Regions from separate parts of the Homo sapiens genome. Here regions 2, 3 and 4 are each linked to region 1. Evidence: promoter capture Hi-C in human tissues and cell types (Jung and others, 2019). All regions are on one chromosome and are shown on one strand. The core of a region is centred on a gene start or on the middle of the fragment in contact, and the rest is flanking DNA. Distances in the headings are between cores, read along the strand shown.

The links. The method cuts DNA at HindIII sites, captures the fragments that hold promoters and counts their contacts. A contact is called where the count stands out against the background at its distance.
Region 2: a contact is called between a fragment that was not itself captured here and the fragment with the promoter of EFCC1 in region 1, in 1 of the 25 tissues and cell types used here (bladder).
Region 3: a contact is called between a fragment that was not itself captured here and the fragment with the promoter of EFCC1 in region 1, in 2 of the 25 tissues and cell types used here (bladder and small bowel).
Region 4: a fragment that was not itself captured here is called in contact with the fragment with the promoter of EFCC1 in region 1 in 1 of the 25 tissues and cell types used here (aorta).

What each region holds. Positions count from the first base shown.
Region 1 is chr3:128,999,878-129,002,577 of GRCh38, forward strand. EFCC1 (EF-hand and coiled-coil domain containing 1) reads left to right here and starts at 1,427. Exons shown (of 8, transcript NM_001377500.1): 1 at 1,427-2,447. The coding sequence starts at 1,752. It also overlaps a transcript of CFAP92 not described here. The HindIII fragment of the contact is 14,506 bases long and covers 1-2,700 here.
Region 2 is chr3:129,256,094-129,258,793 of GRCh38, forward strand. COPG1 (coat protein complex I subunit gamma 1) reads left to right here. Exons shown (of 24, transcript NM_016128.4): 8 at 1-61; 9 at 1,377-1,534; 10 at 1,634-1,767. Among named protein-coding and RNA genes, the nearest start is that of COPG1, 7.8 kb to the left of the region's middle. The HindIII fragment of the contact is 5,686 bases long and covers 1-2,700 here.
Region 3 is chr3:129,296,614-129,299,313 of GRCh38, forward strand. HMCES (5-hydroxymethylcytosine binding, ES cell specific) reads left to right here. Exons shown (of 7, transcript NM_020187.3): 5 at 1,741-1,922. Among named protein-coding and RNA genes, the nearest start is that of H1-10-AS1, 18 kb to the right of the region's middle. The HindIII fragment of the contact is 3,505 bases long and covers 1-2,700 here.
Region 4 is chr3:128,675,344-128,678,043 of GRCh38, forward strand. It overlaps the pseudogene POU5F1P6. Among named protein-coding and RNA genes, the nearest start is that of RPN1, 26 kb to the left of the region's middle. RefSeq lists an enhancer at 1-62. The HindIII fragment of the contact is 6,212 bases long and covers 1-2,700 here.

The DNA of each region.
Region 1 (2,700 bases), core at 177-2,676:
GGGAAATACTGCAGTGTCTCCCATCTGCAGAAAGAACCACTGAATCCACTTATGAATCCCTCCATCTTCTTCTGTGCACTCACATACACATGTCCTAGTAGAAAATACTTAGTATTGTTTTGTGTGTTTTTGTTCTTGTTATGTAAGCATCAGTGTTGTGCATAATCAGCTTGTGGCTTGCTGTGTCCGCTCATCCTCGTTTGCTGAGTCCTAGCTGATTTGATGGACACCAGGTTGTCTCCAGTTTCTCACTGTAATAAACAATGATGCAGTGAACATCCTGTGCACAGTGGCTTTCGAAGGTAGAAGCCAAGAAGTGGACGTGATGTAAAAACTTTGTCAAATTGCCATTACTTTTATAATTAAAAACAAACCTAAAAGAATATGTCCAAAATGCTTGGGGAGAAGCCTCTAACTCCTTCCCAGCAGATATGTACTCTGGGCAAAGCCTTCAAGAACAAGTACGAATTTGCCAAATGGACAACGTGCTGATTCTGGGATACTGTGGCAGAGGAGACAGAATGCTATCGCTTTTCAAACGGCAAGATTTTACATTTAAACTCACAGAGTTATCCACAAGGCAAGATTCTGTCTCTGTCATAGCTAGGAACAGCTGAAGAGTCTGCCTCTTGCTCCAACATGGCTGGGTACCGTGGCTGGATAACCGTTCCCGGTGCAGGTAACAGGTGGACAATATCACAATATCACTGCACCCCTCTCGTGAAAAAGAAAGGGAACACAGTCTAGCACTCACCAGAGAAGCAGGTTTTTCTTCATCTTCCAGAAATGTGTTCTAAAACACCAGAAAAAAACATCAGCCAATCATCGACCTGTTAACCTAACCCCAGCTCAAGAGATGGAACTCGGATCCCATTGCCAAGTCAGCACCGGCAGGCACAAAGGTGGCAGGGCCGGGAGACACCACTTTCCCGAGAGTCCTATCCCCACCCCCAACAGGGATCGGGAGAGAGCAGTTAGCACAGGGCTCGTCTCAGATGGGCTTCTCACCAGCGGGGTGCCCCTAACCTAGACCCCTTGCCTCTCCAAGCCTGTTTCCCTCTCTTTCCCAGTTACTACTTGGGGCTCTTTGCACGGTCTATGGTGGCACAAGAAGTGGGTTCGGAAACCCAGTAGCTGAATTGAAGCGGAGGGGAGGCTTTTCCGCACCTACGGCTACAGGGCGGCGAGAGCAGGCTTGCCAGGCAACCCTCGAAAGGCCTTCCGGGAAGAGGGGGAAGAGTGACGCTTGGGTGTGGGGGCACATCCCCAGCAACCGGACGAGGCCGCCACCCCCAAGGCCCTCCTGGGCTTCGGATCCCGCGCCAACCCCTCGCCCAGGTCTCGGAGCGAACTCTCCGCGCCAGGCGGGCGGGGCGGAGGGAGGAGGGAGTTGAGAGTGGACGGCCGGGAGTGGGAGGAAAAGCGCAGACGCCAGGAACGCCCCGTGAGTGAGGAGAGGAGAGCGTGGGAGTCACGCGGAGAAGCCAGACCCAGACGCCGACCGGGCACTGGTGGCGCTGCCGGGGTCCCGGGGGTTCCTGGACCCCCTACCCCAGGCCCCTCCAAAGCAACTGGGGTAAACCAGACGCACTGTGAGGCCAGCGCAGCTGCTGGACACGGTCCCCGGCGCCGCTCCAACCAGACCGCGACCGCTAAGCCCCTCCTTTCGAGAAACTCTGGGGCCGCCCCTGGAAGTGGCGGGGCGAAGGGACCGGAGGAGGGACCGGAGGAGCGAGGCGCGCGGCGCAGCGATGGAGCCGGTCAGCACGGGCGCGGAGGCCGGCATGGAGGGCGCGGGAGGTGACCCGTACCGGCGACCTGCGCGGCGCACGCAGTGGCTGCTGAGCGCCCTGGCGCACCACTACGGGCTGGACCGCGGCGTGGAGAACGAGATCGTGGTGCTGGCCACCGGCCTGGACCAGTACCTGCAGGAGGTCTTCCACCACCTGGACTGCCGCGGCGCCGGCCGTCTGCCCCGCGCCGACTTCCGAGCGCTCTGCGCTGTGCTGGGGCTGCGCGCGGAGGGGGCCACCACGGCCGGGCAGGCAGCAGGTGACGGGAACTCCAGAGATGTGACCCCCGGGGATGCGGCCGCTGAGTTGGCCACGGACGGGGACTCAGATACCGATGAAGAGGCGCGCCTGGCGCTGCGCGCCGAGCCGCCGGAGCTCACCTTCCGCCAGTTCCACGCGCGCCTCTGTGGCTACTTCGGCACCCGTGCGGGGCCCCGGCTGCCCCGCGGCGCTCTCAGCGAGCACATCGAGACGCAGATCCGCCTGCGCCGTCCGCGCCGCCGCCGCCGCCCGCCCTGCGCGCCTGGCCCCGACAGCGGTCCTGACTGTGAGCGCGTTGCGCGGCTGGAGGAGGAGAATAGCAGCTTGCGCGAGTTGGTGGAGGACCTGCGCGCCGCGCTGCAGAGCAGTGATGCGCGCTGCCTAGCACTGCAGGTGCGCGCCGGCCACGAAGGGAGGGTGGTAACGCCCGGGAGAGGGCTCGAACTAAAAGCTGGCTGGCTGCGGAGCCCGACAGGACAGAGTCAGAGGAAGGGGAGACAGAGGGCAGCCCCACACCATCCCACTCCGCATCAGCACACTTGCATCTTGCCCCTGTTCCTCCCCATTCCACTCCAGTCCCCAACCCTATTCTTACCACCTATTCCATTCCTGAAAACCCCAATCACACTCAAACAACCATACCCCA
Region 2 (2,700 bases), core at 97-2,596, 260 kb after region 1:
GGTCAAGCGCTGGGTGAATGAGGCTCAGGAGGCAGCATCCAGTGATAACATCATGGTCCAGGTGAGATGTGAGCAAGGGAGTGATATTTAAAACACTCAGGCAGGTGGTAAGGCACTGGCCAGTTGGCATGGACACTTGCCACCGAGATCCTTGTGACCCCTGGCCATAGCAGGCTTTAATCCTTTCGTCATTGGATCATGGGAGGAATTAGGAGGTCCTGGGTTAGAGAATCCAGGGTACCACTTGGGGCGCTTGGGTTACAGACTGCTTACCAGCTGGTGCTGAAATATTCAAGTATTTTGATAACCAGCTGAGTATTGTTTTGGAGCATATGATGTGGCAAACTTGGCCAAGGCAGGCAGAGGGCCGCCTAAATTTAGGCCTTTGCCAGCCTGGCTTTGTTATGATGTGTGGAATTATCTTGATGAGGCTTTCATCCACTTTACTCTTCCTCAGTGACCTAGGACAGCCGTTCCTTTTATCTCTCTGGCTCTTGGTTTCCTTGTCTGTAAAATACGAATGAAGGTTACTGCCTCACAAAGCAGCAAGGACGAGCTGAGATCATGCATGTAACATGTGACCCATCTGGGTCATGAGTGCCTATCGGCGCTCCCTGTGTGTTTATGTATTCCCTTTATCTCTCATCTGTCTTCTCATCCTTTGCACGATTCTTGTCTTCAGGGCCAGCTGTGGCCCCTCAAAACACTTATGAGGGCCAGATAAGCTTCCCACATAGAAGGCTTCCACAGCTGCCATATCTTTGCCCCCAAATGTCGCTCCTTTAGGAAACAAAAGAGAGTATCGAGGACAGGAAATAACTATGAGACCTCACATCTTTAGAAAGGGAGTCTCTGGGCTTCTGGCCCTCCAGGCCTAGCTTTGTCAGTACCAGCCAGGAGTCTTTGGGCAAGTCAGCAAAGATTAAACTGTCTACCTTCAGGGTTGTTGTGGGTAATGCAAGATTTCATGGCTAAGGTGTCCCACACAGTGACTTACAAAACATGACAATGCTCAGGGTCTGGCTCCCACCTTCTCTCTCTCATTGTCTGATTGAAAGCACCAGGTCTCCCACATTGCTTTCATCTTTGTGCTGTTTGTTGTCCCTTTCCATATCTGTATTTATGCTACCTGTTAGGGCTCTTGCCGAAGCAGGGGTGGGAACAAGAACCACAGATATACTTCTGTGGTTTGTGAAGCATTGTGTGGAGGGCTGTGTACACAGAGTACCTGGGGCAGTTGTCACAGCCACTCTGTGTGGTAGCTGCTACTGTGCCCATCTTAGAAATGAGAAGGCTGAAGGACCCACCCAGGGCCACACAGCCAGTATACCCAAAAGTCATACATTTGTACTCTGTTGCTGTCTCCTGTCCTATAGTACCACGCACTAGGGCTCCTGTACCATGTGCGTAAGAATGACCGCCTAGCCGTCAATAAGATGATCAGCAAGGTCACACGGCATGGCCTTAAGTCTCCCTTTGCCTACTGCATGATGATCCGGGTGGCCAGCAAGCAGCTGGAAGAGGAGGATGGCAGGTAACGGCTCTCATCTCTCACCAGCTAGATGATGCCTCACTCATCCTACCATGCTGGGCCACCCCCAACGTTTTCTTGCCACCCTATGTTCTTTTGTAGCCGTGACAGCCCACTGTTTGACTTCATCGAGAGCTGCTTGCGCAACAAGCACGAGATGGTGGTGTATGAAGCCGCCTCGGCCATCGTCAATCTGCCAGGCTGCAGTGCCAAAGAGCTGGCCCCGGCTGTGTCAGGTCACTGGGCATTCCTTCACCCAGCCTCACATGTTTATGCTTGCTGGGAACTAGGCCTGGGTTCCCGGGCTAGGAGAAAGAAAGAAAATGCTCTTAACAAGTGTTAAGGAGTCTGTACCTAGGAAGCACCTGCCCCAGACACTATGCTGAGTCCCCACTTGTATCACGTTTTGGTGGTGGGCTGCTGTTAGTTCCATCTGACTGCTGAAGAGGCTGAGGTAAGGCTCGGGTCCACTCTGGAGCCTGTCAGGTTGGCTGGCCACAGGAGGAGGCCTGGTGGAGGAACCCAGGATCTGTGAAACTGGTGCATGTGAAGTGGGGCTGCACTTTTCCAGGTGAAGGAGAGAACAGTATAGAGGGTCGTTCTGAGCCTCCAGCTCCAGCACTGGAGCAGGGCAGCCTGGGTTAGAGCCCTGGCTCTGCCCCTTACCAACTGGGCAAGCCTGGCAAGGCCGCCCATCCTCTCCATGCCTTCCTTTTCTTTTCTCAGATGTGGATGATAGATCATGCCTATTACATAGGGTTATATAGCCAGAAAATGTGTGATCTAGACAAATTGCTTAGAAGGCAACATGTTTGTTGTTTGCCGTTTGCTGTTTTTTGTTTTTGCTTTTTGAGACGGAGTCTCACTATGTCGCCCAGGCTGGAGTGCAGTGGTGCGATCTCAGCTCACTGCAACCTCTGCCTCCCAGGTTCAAGCGATTCTCCTGCCTGAGCCTCCCGAGTAGCTGGGACTACAGGCGCCCACCACCACGCCTGGCTAATTTTTGTATTTTTAGTTGAGATGGGGTTTCACCATATTGGCCAGGCTGTTCTCGAACTCCTGACCTCATGATCCGCCCGCCTCGGCCTCCCAAAGTGCTGGGATTACAGGCGTGAGCCACTGCGCCCAGCCGTTGTTTGCTGTTATTAAGGGGAATCCAGCAGCCTTGA
Region 3 (2,700 bases), core at 173-2,672, 300 kb after region 1:
TGCCAGAGATGATATGTAGGACAGAGACTGAGATTAATAATATTTATGTCTGGAAATTCTTCTATTAGGCCATTAATATATGGGGTTAAGTCAGTCTTGTCAGGAATTGAACTGGGTTTGGGCTTTGTTCTCATTACAGTGCCTTTGTTTTGTTTTTGTTTTTGTTTTTGAGACAGAGTCTCCCTCTGTTGCCCAGGCTGGAGTGCAGTGGTGCGATCTCGGCTCACTGCAAGCTCCGCCTCAGCCTCCCGAGTAGCTGGGACTACAGGCGCCCGTCACCAGGCCCAGCTAATTTTTTGTATTTTTAGTAGAGACGGGGTTTCACCGTGTTAGCCAGGATGGTCTCGATCTCCTGACCTCGTGATCCGCCTGCCTCGGCCTCCCAAAGTGCTGGGATGACAGGCATGAGCCACCACGACCAGGCTACAGTGCCTTTGTTTGACACAGGCTTTCAAGTGCTCTGGTGTTATCCAGTGTTTAGGGTAAGGATTGACTTTCCAGAGGGTTTCTCAGCAGCCCTCCTCTCTTCAGTTGTTGGATTTTCCTGTGAGCCTGTGCCTTAGACATGGTCTTTCTTGTGCCCTTTTCCCTCTTCCAGAAGTAGACTGCTTCTGCTTGTCACTTAATGTTTGTCGGCTAAACGGGTGGAGGCAGTTCTCCGTTCAGTCTATCTTAAGCAGATGTGGCTCTCTGACTCAGTCTTCCCCAGGGCGTAGGGGGCTTTTTCTTTTTCTCCTTCCCCAGCCTCTGTGGGTCTTTACCTGATTCCTAGGCGTGACAGGGATTATTATTATTACCGTTTCCCTGGCAGCTTAAGACTTTTGCTCCTTAGGGGAAAAGTGATTAGGTGAGGCAGAGGAGCTTGCCTTTAAGGTATTCAACAGTGAGGATGGCTTCCTCCAGGCTCCTGCCCTGTGCCGTCTTTTTCGAGCACTGGCAAAGTCCAAGGAGAAAAGCCTGTGAGCTGGTGCAAACTCCTCTGAGGTTTGCAGCTCCTAGGGATTCTGTACTATCCTGCTAGCCTGTACGCTGCTTGTAGAAATGTGATAATAACATTATCTGAATTCTTAACCTGGTTGTATGAAGGCTTGTGTCTCCCTCCTGATGCTGCCAATAAGCCAGTACTTGTGTCCCATTGCCCCTTGGAGGACCTTGTCTTTTCTTAAATTTCAGGGAAATTGATCGACTTACCTCTCTGATGAGTTTAAGAAAAGTTATAATTTTGCATATTATCCAGCTTTTTTCTTATTGTTAGAATAGAAGTGACGTTCTTTCCAGCTTTCTACATTTTAGTCCTTGAATTGAATTTTGAATGGCAATTAGGAATTGGCATGAAATTCAATTCAATTAAGAAAGGGTGGGAAGGACATTTTGGGCAGAGGAAGGTTGCTTCAGCAAGACACAGGAGCATGAAATTGCATGAGAGCTTCATTTACCAACAGCTGGTTTGGGTTCAAATTAACAATGTAAGTAATAGCTAGAATGGTGGGCCAGTTCACGGAAGGCCTAAATGTCCAGTGAAGGTGTTAAATTCTGAAAGTATTAAGGAGCCATGAATCTATAGCTTCAGTTGGCATTTGCCACCAACCTTCTTTCCTTTGGTGACAGAGGGGTTAATAAGACGTGGGCTGAATTACTTTTAAAATGATTTCCGTGCTCTCGAGTCTGAAGTAGTACCTAACCTGCATGTAGAAGAAGTCTGCTGAGTGCATCTAATCTGCCCATATATTTTGCTTCCAGTCAGGTAGCATTGGTGCTGCAGATAGTCCTGAGAACTGGGAGAAAGTCTGGGACAACTGGAGGCTGCTGACAATGGCCGGGATCTTTGACTGCTGGGAGCCCCCAGAGGGAGGAGATGTCCTGTATTCCTATACCATCATCACAGTGGATTCCTGCAAAGGCTTGAGTGACATCCACCACAGGCAAGTCATACTTCTTAGCCCTGGATCCAAAAGGATCCAAAAGATGATTTGTCCTCTGCTTTTAGGTAGCTTTAGAGAGTAGGAAACCAAGTCATTTTACAACGTAAAGTTACAATCAGTTTGACTCTAACATGACATACATTCCTAAAAATCACTGTACTATGCAAAACGATAGAATAAAAACCAAATAACTTAGGGGAAAAGTGGGGTTAAGGAGACAACACTTAAAATGTTGTCAGTGACACATTAAAAAAATAATGGAAACCTAATAAAACAGTAGCACTGTTTTATACATGTTAGGTGGTTAAGAAATAAATAAATACTACAGGCTGAGCACGGTGGCTCACGCCTGTAATCCCAGCACTTTGGGATGCTGAGGTGGGTGGATCACGAGGTCAGGAGATCGAGACCATCCTGGCTAACACGGTGAAACCCCGTCTCTACTAAAAATACAACAACTAAATTAGCCGGGCATGGTGGCGGGCTCCTGTAGTCCCAGCTACATGGGAGGCTGAGGCAAGAGAATGGTGTGACCCCGGGAGGTGGAGCTTGCAGTGAGCCAAGATCGTGCCACTGCACCCCAGCCTGGGTGACAGAGTGAGATTCCATCTCAATAAATACATACATACATACATACTACAATAAATATGGCACTTTACCTCGACAAGACCTGAAGTTTGCTTGTTGCTTGTGGAAGTGAGTGTTGGAAGAAATGCATCTCATGAGTTATTGTGAAGTTGTGGAAGGAAGGTTATGTAAAATTTTTTATCTTTTGCAG
Region 4 (2,700 bases), core at 2-2,501, 320 kb before region 1:
TGGGATTACAGGTGTGAGCCACCGCGACTGGCCCGGGTTCTTGTTCTTTCGGCCTGCCTGAGGGTCTCTGCTTTGCATATCTCCTGAAGCTCTTCATTGTTGGCTGCTTCCTCCACCCACTTCTGCAGCAAGGGAGGCAGCTTACACATGTTCTTGAAACTGAGCTGCAGAGCCTCAAAGCAGCTGATGGTCATTTGGCTGAACACCTTCCCAAATAGAACCCCCCAGAGGCTGGGCATGGTGACTCACTTCTGTAATCCTAGCACTTTGGGAGGCCAAGGTGGGAAGTCAGAAGTTCAAGACCAGCCTGGCCTGTAACATGGAGAAACCCCGTCTCTACTAAAAATACAAAAATTAGCTGGGCATAGTGGCACATGCATGTAATCCCAGCTACTTGGGAGGCTGAGGCACGAGAATCGCTTGAACCCAGGAGGCAGAGTGAAACGCCTAACCTTGTTTTTACTCTAACTCGTTACTTTGAATTTTATCCTGCTTGTCTCTTTAATCACCTAGCCTTGCTTCTCATGTAAATAAGACTCTCTCTAGCTGGGAAAGCCAGACAAACTCCAATTGACCCCTTAATTTACAAGATACTAAGGGCTCCTTACCCAACCCCCTTCCGCAAGGAGTTAACCTGTGTAAGCAGATCCTCAGCATTTCAAAGTAGCCCAATTAACTGATAAGGTACTAGCACCAACAATGTATGAAGTTCCCAGGATTTTTCTCAAAGAGATAACAACATAAAGCCTTGAGTTCCTGTCCGGCATACCCCCTATATCTAATTATAATAAAGGTTTAAAGCCTTGCACCTGGTACCGTTGCTCTTCTTGTAACCATTTGTCTTTTAAATTGTTTATCTCTTTGTAACCATTTTTTTTTTATTCTTGCATGTTTTTACTTCTGTAGAATTATTGCATTTGAGTTCCCCTCCCCTTCCTAAACCTAGGTATAAAAGTTAATCAACCCCCTTCCTCGGGGCCAAGAGAATTTTGAGCGTTAGCCGTCTCTTTGGCCGCCGGCTTAATAAAGGACTCTTAAATCGTCTCAAAGTGTGGCGTTCTCTCTAACACCCCTGGGCACAACAAGAGGTTGTGGTGAGCGAAGGTCACGCCACTGCACTCCAGCCTGGGCAACAGAGTGAGACCCTGTCTCAAAAATAAATAAACAAATAAATAAACATTTAAAAAAAGAGCCCCCAGGGTGAGCCCCACACGGGCCTGGATATATCCCAGGGTGATCCTCTTCTGCTTCAGGAGCTTGGCAAATTACAGAGCTTTGATGTCCTGGGACTCGTTGAGGTTTTGCTCCAGCTTCTCCTTCTCTAGCTTCATGGCACCAGCTGGGGCAGTGCAAGGCTCCAGGGAGGCCCCTCACAGTTGCTCTCCACCCAGGCTCCTGCCTCGCCCTCAGGCTGAGAGGTCTTCAAGCCACCTTGGGGCACTAGCCCCACTGCAACCGGAGACCCAGAGTATACCATCTGCCCACGGAACTCATGCAGTGGGGGGCACGGGAGAAACCCCCACATCTCAGAGCCTGGCCCAACACCCGGCCCAATTCCTGCCTTGGAAGCTTAGCCAAGTCCAGCTCCCGCCCCGCTGACCCATTACCTCCACCACCTGGAAGGGGCAAGAAGGTGAAATCCAAAGCCAGGTGTCCCACCATGGGGAAGGAAGGCTCCCCAAGCCAGGGATCTGGTGAAATGAGGCAAAAAGTTTTTAAATTTTAAAAAAAGTTGTTTTAGAAATGAGGTCTTGCTATGTTGCCCAGGCTGGAGTGCAGTGGCTATTCACAGGCATGATCATGGCTCATTACAGCCTGGAACTCCTGGGCTCAAGCGATCCTCCTGCCTCAGCCTTCTGAGTAGCTGGGACTACAGGCATGTGCCACTGTGACCTTCTTAAGGCTTTTGAAATTTTAAAAAGAAAAAGAGTCTGCATTCCTGACAACACACCAATGCCCCATACAAGACTCAGATGTGCCTGCCCTTATTGCTACTTATTGCTTGAGACAGATTAACCCTTGTCTGTTTAAGCCACTATAGAAGGCTACATTGTTATTTGCAATGTAATTTGCATTGTTATTTGCACTATAGAAGGCTACATTGTTATTTGCAGCCACAGTCATAATTATAATTATATGTGATAAATCTTGGAGCTTATTCTACAACAGTACTACTTTATTTTGTAGGAGGGGCTGCATAGAATTCCTGTTAAACAAATGTGTCTTTTTTTTTTTTTTGAGATGTGGTGTCACTCTGTCACCCAGGTTGGAGTGCAGTAGTGCGATCTCCACTCACTGCAACCTCTGCCTCTGCAGCTCAAGTGATCCTCCTGCCTCAGCCTCCTGAGTAGCTGGGACTACAGGTGCCTGCCACCACGCCCAGCTCATTTTTGTATTTTTTGTAGAGACAGCGTTTCACCATGTTGCTCAGGCTTGATGTGTCATTTTTCAAAAATCAAGCCAGTCCCCTATTTATGAACAATTAGTTTGCTTCCATGCTTTTGCCATTCAAACAGCCCTCAACTGTACCTCTTTCTACGTTTGTCTGTGCACATGGGGGAATACATATGTAAGATAGTTTCCTTGGCCCTGAAGTGCTTAATCAAAGGATTGGTACAAAGGATTAATGTTACATTAACAGATATGCCAGCTTGCCTCCTCATGGAGTTGTAAAAATGTACACTCCCACTTGTAGGTATC